Regions from separate parts of the Homo sapiens genome. Here region 2 is linked to region 1. Evidence: promoter capture Hi-C in 16 types of primary human blood cells and fetal thymus (Javierre and others, 2016). All regions are on one chromosome and are shown on one strand. The core of a region is centred on a gene start or on the middle of the fragment in contact, and the rest is flanking DNA. Distances in the headings are between cores, read along the strand shown.

Region 1 (5,371 bases), core at 1,531-4,030:
ACGTGCACTTGTGCACACATGCATCCACACACACTCGCCCTTCAAGTCCTGATAACTTTGAGTCCTTGGATCTAGGAAAGTCTGAAACACTATTGTCCCTGGACTTTCTGGTTATAAGAGCCAATACATTTAGGCTTCTTTGTTTGCTTGCTTAATTTAAGCTGCTTCTATAAGTTGCAATCGAGAGTCCTTGCTAAAAGAATTATGAAAACAATGAAATACATAAAGCACAATCCCTGAACATGCCCAGGACTATCACAAAATACAGTATAGAATTAATCCATACATCCTACCTGAGATATAAAACATTTCCATCATTGCCAATGTTCCATTGGACACTGCTGATCTATAATATAGTTCCTTATATATTACAGCATATATGTCCACTCATAGTGCCTTATATATATGCTTCCTTTCTTTATGTAACAGGCAGTGGGTATTATTAAAAACAGCTAACAACCCTAAAGGTACAAGTACTGGAGGCTCTCTGTTGTGGCCAGCATTAAAATTTTAATTCCTGGATCTAAGGAGATTTAGCGTGTCTCAAGGTTGGGCTGGGAGATATTTTAGGGTATGGTTTTTTTTGTAATCAGTACAGAAGGATTTCAATATTGTGTCAACCAATAAGGCCAAATTGGTGTGTACTGGCTGAACATAAGCTCTGTTAGCAGATATTATAGTTTCTTACTTGAGTACCTATTTTCCCTGCTGGACTGTGAATTCCCCTAGACAGAGACTTTGTCTTACTCATTTATGTGGGTCTTATGCCTACCTAGGTGCTCAAAAGATATTTGCTGAATGAAAAACAGGAATGACGGTCCAACATGGTATAACTCCCTATTCAGTTTTTTTTTTTCCTGATAGAAGTTCCGTGCCTAGAATTAAATTGCAATATGGTCTCTTTTCACCCACTCTTTTGAAGATGTTATCCTCTCCAATATCAGCTGATTGAAGAAGAAAATTGTAAATTTTCTCTCTCAGGCATAATGTTGATATTTTAACTCATAGTGATTTTTTCTCAATACAAAATGAATTTTAGAAATAAATCAAGATCCCAGAAACTTATGATTGCTTTGAGTGGTATCTTTTATCTGTCATCCTAAGAAAAACATGAGATCTGATGGCCCAGAGCACAGAGACCTTTGGTATTTCAGTTCTCCTACAGCCGCATGACTCGAACCTTTTGCTGGGAGATTGGGATGTAGGTCCCCATACTTGATTATAAGGACTGTGAGGGCAGGGGCCACATCTGCATATCTGTCTATTAATAATAGTACTCCTGGTACCTAGCTCCTCCTTGCTTCACAGCAGACACTAAACAAATGCTTGCTGAGTGAGTAAATACTTACATTTAAAGAGAGGCAATTATACACATTGATCATTTGATCACCCTCTAGCACTGATAATTTTTAAGTGATTAGCTTTAAAAATCATTTTTCTTACATCAACCTGGGTCCTCACACTATTAAACAACAGGAGAGCTTTCAATATTAAATGAAGTGGGGCAGCTGGGCAACTGTAAATTTTGGATGATACTTCAGAGAAGAGTCTAGGTGTATCTGTTCTATCCCTTTTTCTGATGGGCATCTGCCATTTATTTTTCCATTCTTAAGCTCTCAGGAGGGATGTCTTATTAGTTTATCAGAATGCATAGGGAAAGCTCATCTTTCTTGGAGTAGGTCTTCCAATAAGTGTTCAAGCCCTGGGTCTTCCCTCACTACAATAATAAACATACCTGCTCTACCCTCCTCACAAAGCTGTTATCGTGAGCATGAAAAGACGAGTCGCTGTGGGGAAGAACTATTAACCCCTATACAGATACTGTTGTTGCTTTCCGTTCAAGGATCCACCATGAGACTGTGGGTAAGGCACTTTCTGGGCAGTGAAATCGGGCTTAAGAGAATCATTGTACTTTTATTTTGCTCCTGGGACCGGCAAGGGCAGTTAAGAGCCCTAGCCCTAAAACTGTCGTCTGTTACAGAGGCAGAGAAATCATTACTGGGGTTGGCAGCGTTGGGGGGAGGGGGGAAAACGTGTATGAAAACCTGGGCTCCCAGAGCAAACTTCGCCACGCGCCCTCCATCGCCCCTGTCTCCACACAAGTCCCGGCAGGGGCTTCTTGGGCGGAGGCCACGCCGACCAATAGGAACCCACTGTGTTCCTACAGGTTACGAAGCAGGTGGAGAAATTGAGCAGAAACAATTAGCGAAACCGGGCTCAGCCTTTACCGCGGTGCCAGGAGCTCCTAACAGGCCTGGAGGGGAATGTCGGGGCTCAATTTCCTAACGCTCCCCTCCCCATCCCCATGCCACCTCCACGAGCAGCGGCGTCCAGCCTCCTCCCGCCCGAACGTGCTCGAGGGGCGGGCAGTCGACCTTTATTGTCTGGGGAGCACCTGGCAGGTGGCGGGCCCGTGCCCTAACGTGTGCGTGGTGCCCAGCTTCACAAAGCGAGCGGGCAGCACCTCCTTGGTCCGGGAACGGCCTCAGCCTGGCCGTCCACATCCCAGGGGTGGAAAGGTGGAGAGAGAAAGGGGCTCCGGAGTCAAGAGCGGGGAGAGAGGGCGCGCGCGCCCTCCTCCTCCCGGCGGGCACGGCCCCCCGGCATTAACACGTCGAAAGAGCAGGGGCCAGACGCCGCCGGGAAGAAGCGAGACCCGGGCGGGCGCGAGGGAGGGGAGGCGAGGAGGGGCGTGGCCGGCGCGCAGAGGGAGGGCGCTGGGAGGAGGGGCTGCTGCTCGCCGCTCGCGGCTCTGGGGGCTCGGCTTTGCCGCGCTCGCTGCACTTGGGCGAGAGCTGGAACGTGGACCAGAGCTCGGATCCCATCGCAGCTACCGCGATGAGAGGCGCTCGCGGCGCCTGGGATTTTCTCTGCGTTCTGCTCCTACTGCTTCGCGTCCAGACAGGTGGGACACCGCGGCTGGCACCCCGACCGTGCGACTACTCGGCGAAGCCTGTGCCTGGGAGGGTGGTACCCGCCAGGGTGCATCCGGAGAGAGGACTGCGGGCCCTCAGTGCCCGTGCGTTCCAGCCTCCGGGGAGACTCCAGGTGGCCCTCGGACTCTCCGGCGCCCTGCCTCGCTCACCTGCGCGAGGAGACCCCAGCTGCTGGTGGTGGGGGACGCGAATCCGGGGTTCTTCGGGAATGGGGACAGCAAGAGGGGGTTAGGCGTGAGCGAGGCTGCAGGCTCCGTGCGAGTTTGGGGTGGCTTTTGTGCCGACGTTGCGCGGGGGGCGGAGGCGGGGGGCTCAGGGGTTTGCACCGAGCGCCTTCTCTTGCCGTGCGAGGCGCGGCCGCAGCTTCCTTTTGTTAAAAGTTGCGTGTGTGTGACCGGCGCCCGGGAGGACCTGCCTGCAGGTTCTCCGCCGCGCTGAGGGCAAAGTTAGAGAGCCCTTTCTCTGCTCTGCGGCTACTGCCTTCCAACCGCAGGCGCTCTTTGTGCCCAGAGCTGGGGACCGACCCGCTGCCGCCTCTGCTCGCGGCGCCACCCGTGGAGACCAATCGAAGGCTGCGGCGTTTCCCCGCCTCCGGGTTAGGCTTTTGCGCTGGGAGTGCGCGGCGTGGGGCTGTTGTGGGGCCGGACTCCCGCGAGCCTGGAGGTGGTGGCGACAGGGACAACTTGGGCAGGGCGTGTGGAAAGCAGCCGCTAGGTTGCAGACTTTTTGCTTTCGTACATCCCGTGCTCGCCCCTTTCTGCCGCGGCGCCGTTTCATTCCTGCCGCGCGCCCCGGGGCGGCTGGAGGCTGTGTTTGCCGCCTGCTCCGGGAAGGCAAGGGACAGCGTGCTGGGACTCTGCGTTCCCTGACTCCAACCGCCTAGCACGCCGGCCAGAGTGCCCGGCCTGCCTGGCGGGTTCTGAAAGCCCCTAGTTCCCGGTGTCTGCGACCTGTATTCGCAGGTCCTGTTTTCTTCGGAAATTTTTGAGATTCGTGACCGCCCGCCTCCCCGCCCCCGGGACTTCTATACTTCAGGGCTGCCTGGGGGTGGGGTGGGAGATGGCGTGGAACTTTCTGCAAATCCTACTCAGTTCTTAAAGCTATAACAGAAATCCAGGTATATCCGCGCGGGAACTGGGTCTTAGGTGAAGGATTTGCAGGTTGCTGGAGCCCCTTGGTCAGATTCCTGCCTCCCGTTCCCTTTTTTCCAGGTGTCGCTGGTGCGGGCGAGTGCAGGTCGCCCAGCTCACCCCTGAAGCCCTGCTATCTCCCAGGTCATTTTTTAAAACAAACCTTTAAGGTTACCCTGATGATGTAAGGATAGAAAGTGAGTCTTAGCTGGAATCAAGCGCTTGAAAGGAAGCGGCGCAATGAACGGTTTTGAGACTGTCGACTACCGGTCAGTTTCTCTATAAAGTCTCCAGGCGCAGTCTGCAGCGTCCTGGACTTGTAACTATTGTGAGGGCTTTCCTGTGGGGGGCAGAGAGGCCTTGCATCTGGACCCCTGTGCAGCAGGAGGGGTCAGCAGGGGTCACGAGGGAGTGTTCGGATTCTCTGGAGGATTTGATCACCTAGCTTAAAACAACACATCTGGTCTTTATGTTTTTGTGCCTTGACCTTTTTAATATCAGTTAAGCTATGTGAACTAGAACCTAGTAGGAGACTAGAAAGACCACATCGAATATCTCCCTTTTAAAAAATTAAAAGAATCAATGGTTTTCTTCTCCCCAATAGATTTTTGGCAAAGGGAATTTTAAGGTCTGTCTCCTGGGGGGGCAGTGTGGTGTAACGACAAAGCCTTGCTCTGTCCCCTGGGTTCTCGGTTTCTCTGCCATTTCTTGGCTGCGTGCCCTTGGCCAGGTTGCTTAGGGCAGGTTGCTTAAATTCTGGGAAACGCAGTGTCCTCCAGAGTACAAGGAGGCATCTGCATCATGAAGGATCCTTTGGGTCCAGAATTCTCCTCCAATGTTCTGAGTGTAGACTCAGCACTCTTTTTAACTATTCCCCTGGCCCCTGTCTGCCTCTTTGAAATTCCTCTGCCTCTCCTGCTCACAGGGAAGTCATAGAGTATGGGTGCATCTGACCGGTCTGCCCCTGACTGAAGCAAGGAGCTGTGGCTTATGCTTACTGCCCTTCAATTCCCATATATTCCTCTGCATTGCCCTTTGAGGGCCCCCGCCCCCCAAGTATTACAGCTCCTGTGCCTAACAGGATGAACCTGCTAGGAATAGTGAATCATACCTTCCCCGTTTCGTTCCTGCAGGTGTGAGGCTGGAGTCATTCTCAGCAGCTGGACACAAGGCACTCTAAATTATTATCCTGCTGGAAATAAGAGACCCCAGATAATTCATTTATCCCTATTCTGTTTTTTCCCCCACTCATTCCCATTTTTTTTCTCATGACTCTGTAAATCATGTAATGCTATGCATTTATAG
Region 2 (5,371 bases), core at 1,030-3,529, 290 kb after region 1:
TGCAAGTTATTCTCTTCATACCTCAATTTTCCATCTGATAATTGGGTATAATGATAGTATTTACCTCATAAAGTTGCTGTGAGAATGAAAAGAGTTAATATTTATGAAACATTTAGAACGGTGCATGTTAGTATAAGTCTAACATGAATTTTGTGTTTTTTTAAGATATTAAGCTTGCAGTTAACCAAACTCTCGCATGTCTTTCAAGTATGTGGCTGCCAATTTATTCTCTCCCAATCTCAAGTTGTGCCATTGATTTCATTTTTAGAGCCCAAAGGTAAGACTTTGAGTATCCCTTTGGTGGTGCTGGCTCAGCATCACTTTCATTTTCCTTCACTCTCTGCACCCCACCCACCTACCCACCCACCCATTTCCTGGTGCAGGTGCTAACAAGAGAGTTGGAAACAGAAGGGAAAGAAGTCTGCTGCAAACTAAGCGTGCAGTGTGCAGTCATTGAGATTTGACTGCATCTTAACATTGGCACTCAACCAAATTTAAGTGGCTCTAAGTACTTTTAAATTAGGCATATAGTTAAAATTTGACAAGCACATAAACTTAATAGCTGATTTCCAGGCAAAATTACTACCAAAACTGATTTTAACTGCCAGTAAAATAAGCCCAGGGGGTTGTTATTCAAGGTAGCCCAGTAAAATGAAATAAGGATCAGGACAATGGGAACAGTTGTGAAGATGACAAAACTGTCATGTCTACAGGTGGAACTAAGTGTCTGCCCTGTTAATGGATATAGACACAATTCAGGGAAGCAAGCCATCCAAATGCATCACTTGAATCCTGTTTGGTTGTTCTGACGTAGAAGAAGAAAAGAAAGAGAATCAATTGAGGAAATGTAAGATGCAGAACTACAAAAATAAACTTGCCGTCCCTGACATCTGTGTTTATAAATGCACTATATTAAACAGCAGAGATTTTCCCCATCGTTAGCCAACACCAAGATGGCGTCTTGCAGGCTTTGTTTTTTCTTCACCCCTAATCGTAAGGGCTTTCTTTACTCTCTCTTTGCTTCCAGCTTTTGTCTTATTCTCCCCATAAAGAGTTGGCAGAGCATGGCTGGGCAATTTCAGAAACATGGTTTATAAGTGACTTGCTCTATTATTTTGCTATTAAAAGTGAGTCTGTGCTAACTATTCTTTGATGAAGAAGCAGTCCCTTCCAGCCCCCAGGTGGAGATTTTCCCTATCAATAACGCCAGAACAAGTTTGAATCAAAGAAATGACACATACAGTGGCCAGATGTTTGGAGAATAAGAAAGGGAGCTAAGTTCACACAATTGTTCTGCCTTCTTGCTTTCCGCTGAGGTTCTTTCCTGTGAGCTGTAGGACTCATTAACAGACAGCTCTGCTCTGGGCATGCACACCGACAGCCTCAGCCTAGCCCTTCAGCGAGAGGCTGCTAACAGGCGGCCTTCCTTTTCCTGTGCAGCTGGTGTTTGCAGAAGGACATGATTTGAAAGTTGATTTATTTACCCTGTCTTTGAAAAAAAATGAATGGACATAGATGTCTGTTTGTTAAAACAATTAATAAACTCTAATAATATGATTAGAATTTAACAGAAAAACATCGTTGGCTTGCAGGTGGAAATCCAAGGTCTTCAACTTTTAGGATGTTCATCATGTAGCTGTCTCACTCAGAACAAGATAAGATGACGTGTTTGGTCTTTAAAAACAAAACAGTCAGGAGATCGAGACCATCCCGGCTAAAACGGTGAAACCCCGTCTCTACTAAAAATACAAAAAATTAGCCGGGCGTAGTGGCGGGCGCCTGTAGTCCCAGCTACTTGGGAGGCTGAGGCAGGAGAATGGCGTGAACCCGGGAGGCGGAGCTTGCAGTGAGCCGAGATCCCGCCACTGCACTCCAGCCTGGGCGACAGAGCGAGACTCCGTCTCAAAAAAAAAAAAAAAAAACAAAACAAAACAAAAAAACAGCTGATCAGTTCTTGTTTTTTACTCTACAGCCTTTGAGTCATGAATGAAGAAAATCACTTTCACTTGTGGGAGCCAGTGGGCTCCAGTTCGTGTTGTCTCTGTTGTCCGTGGAGACTTTGAAGATGTTTATATGCACCTCAACTATCAAGAGGAAGAGAACATGCCAGAAAGGGCCTCTTCCTCTTGGGCTAGCTCCTCCTCTCAAGTCCCTTCAAAAAGTCAGTGTGTCTGAGACACAATAGACACAGCTTAAATAAAGTGAAGAGGGATAGGCCGTAGAAGAAGTAGTTTCTGTCTTTAAAAAATGTATTCATTATTTTGGGGAATAATATAAACCTGAACACCAATTTAAAAAACTTTAAAGGACTATTCAGTGAAAAATCATTCTCTCTCCCACCCTCACTCCCCATCAGCCACCATGTTCCCAAACCAGAGGCAACTGCCATTATATTTCTAGAGTATTCTTCCAGAGACATCCTATGTAGATATAAACATTCATACATACACATATATATGCTTTTAAAATATGCAAATGATGTACAATACACATTGTTCTGCACTTTGCTTTTTTTTTTTCATTTAACAATACATCAGACAAAGATGTTTTTTCTGCTCAAAGTGCCATCAAGAGAGAAAAGTCATTCTTCAGTTCAATGATCTGCATCTGTTTCTGGCTTATTGTATTGACAACAAACAAAATGCAAGTCAAATTCTATTGCAGCCATAGGTAATCTCGGCCTGGAGAAATGTGAATCCTCTTTAAAACCTTACAACTCTGAATAACAGGAAGTGTGGAGTGCATAGAGGAGAAAGGGAAGGATGAATTATGCTTAATAGAACGTTTTATGGAACTGACAGTTGAGCCGAGAGACATTTTGGATGCCATCTTGCAAAATGATTCCTTGCCTAGCTCTAGTAAGTAGAATGCAAAGTTATTGGCTATAATAGCATAATTTTTGCTAGTTAAGGATCTCTATAGGTGGCATAGTGTCAATATTCTGGATATGACATGAGGGAGGTAGAAAGAGAACAGGCTTTGGAATCAGGCAGACCTAGATGTTAATACTGGATATACCAGTTATTAATTTAAACTAGTTTTCTAACCTCTCAGACCCTTGGTTTTCCTTTATGTAAAATGGAAATACTGTACATAAAGAGTGGTTGTGACAATTTGTCTTTTTTTAAAAAAAAAACACATCATAGGTGTCCACTATTACTGTGATGCTGCATAACAAATAATTCCCCCATTCTCCATGACTTGAAATAATGAATATTCATGTTGTATTCATGTTTCCATTCACTGTAGTTTAGATGTACCCAGCTGCTCTTGCCTGAGCTTTTCTGGCCTCTAGGCTTGGGTCTGTTTCAGGTCTGCTTTACACGTCTCGATTTCAGGTCAAAGGGTGACAATTGCCTGGTGGCATGCTTTTCTCTCATGGCAGAAGATAGAACCTCAAGAGGACTGGCAGCAACTCACCATGCCTCTTATAGACTCAGCTGGTCTATAAGACCAGAACATTGTTACTTCTGCCCACATTCCATGGGCCAAAACATCACAGGGCCAGGGCCAAGGCCAAATTCAATGAAGTAGGAGGAATATTCTCCCTGTAGTGAACCACAGCAAAAGCAGGCAGGGGAGGAAGAATCATAAATAATAGATTCAGGCCCCCAGTGCAACACCAGGCATCTACAGTGTTCACATAAATGGGAGCTATTATCACTATAGTATCAAATAGGAAAGGTATTAGAGATAGCACTGAATGTATAATAATTCTAAAACACACCTTAAAAGCAATTTAATTTTTTAAAAAACCACTTTAAAAAGTCAATCGGTTTGTAATTTTGTTCTTCTCGTAATCAGAGTAGGCATATATGGTCCCTCTGTGTGAATCTGAAAAAAAGGTGCCTCTCTAAGCAGATGAACCCTAGGGCCAACAGCTAGGCAAGTGCATAACAAGATCCCCCTTCCATGTGGTAAATGCAGCTCTGCAAAGAGCCCCTGGCTGGGCTGGGAGAGCTGAAAGGGAGCTGCCCTCTCCACTGAGCCTATTGTGCAGTGCACGACCTACACACCGTATGTTGCAGCACAGCTCCTAAGAGTAGAAGGTGGCCTGGGAGCCTCATCCTGCTTTCGGTTCTGGTTCATTGACACCATTGCTATAAACAATTTCCTTGGAGCTTTGATTCACAGCTTTCTTTCTGCTTTCCAAGTTATGGACTAGAAAATTGGAGCTTTGGGGACACACTGGCACCTATTTCGCAGAGCTCCTGCGGCTTTTTACGTCTCCCATCTGAATCCAGACCCAGGTGACCTAGCAGCTCCCAGACAGCTCTAGGGCCTGGAAACTGGGATCACAGAGAAATGTACAGACTTACACAACTTAATTTTCTTCATCCTGACTGACAGGATGAGGACAGAAGGGAAGAGGAGGGAACTCTAAAGAAGCTTTAGAAGGCACTGACATTATAAGCTTGTGGATAGATAAGCAGCTCATGGGGAGTGGAGTGCGAAGCAGCAAACATGGGGGGAGAGATTGATGGAGGCACCCCAGGGTGGGGAGCGGGGAGATCCTTATGTCTACACATAACAACTGCTGTGAGAAAAGATGTGCAATTCAGTCCTGCATTGCTTATTTGGAAAATTAATTAGTAAGTGGTTAGCAAACAATGGTTCCACTGAACAGAATATTAATCTTCCCCCAAATTTATTTAGACCCTAGGCATAGAGGGGAGAGGAAGAAGGAAGGATCTGGCAGAGGAGGAGGGAGGGAGGGAGAGAAAGAGAAGGGTACAGGATGGGAAAGGATAGGAGAGGAGGGGAGGGAAGGCAGGACCTGTATCTGCTTTGTTCCCCAGGATCAAGCACAGGACCCGGCCTGGAGAAGGTGCTCATTAACATGAGAGTGTATGAGTGAAAGAGAAGGGAGATTGCAATATTGACATCCGTGATTCTACTAAAAGCATCGCCAGTTGACTACAGTGAGACATCTTACATTCCCACTGATCTGCTAAATATGTTATTTGGAGAGTCACCCCACACTCTTTGTAGCATAACTCATCAGTCTTGTCTACCGCCTATCTCATCATCCTAGATTTAGTTCTTTTCCCCCTCCTGCAGGCAGTGTAAAGGCCAGCATCCCGCGCTCCTTGCCCTCTCGCCCTCTCCTGCTTCAGTTTTCCTGTTTTCTTGCCTGTAAGTGTCTGTTAGACACTTCCTCTGAGGTTTATTTGCAGTCTGACCTGTGAATCTTTGAAATATTCTCTCTCATGGTCTCACTCCAGTGACACCATGAGCAAGGCATTGGTAATGACAGCTCATTTGGAGATATTAGCGGCTAGGCTGTTTTCTTTTATGCTGTCTAGGTGTAGGCTCTGGAAGAAGACGGAAGCACTGAAGGATGTTTCCTGAGTGAATTTGAACACTGTGC

What was found. The method cuts DNA at HindIII sites, captures the fragments that hold promoters and counts their contacts. A CHiCAGO score of 5 or more calls a contact.
Region 2: a contact is called between a fragment that was not itself captured here and the fragment with the promoter of KIT in region 1, in 1 of 17 cell types (neutrophils). The highest score is 5.4, in neutrophils.

What each region holds. Positions count from the first base shown.
Region 1 is chr4:54,655,177-54,660,547 of GRCh38, forward strand. It overlaps KIT (KIT proto-oncogene, receptor tyrosine kinase), which reads left to right and starts at 2,781. Exons shown (of 21, transcript NM_000222.3): 1 at 2,781-2,905. The coding sequence starts at 2,839. RefSeq lists a silencer at 2,066-2,360. The HindIII fragment of the contact is 16,971 bases long and covers 1-5,371 here.
Region 2 is chr4:54,940,830-54,946,200 of GRCh38, forward strand. No RefSeq gene overlaps it. Among named protein-coding and RNA genes, the nearest start is that of LINC02358, 98 kb to the left of the region's middle. The HindIII fragment of the contact is 4,216 bases long and covers 172-4,387 here.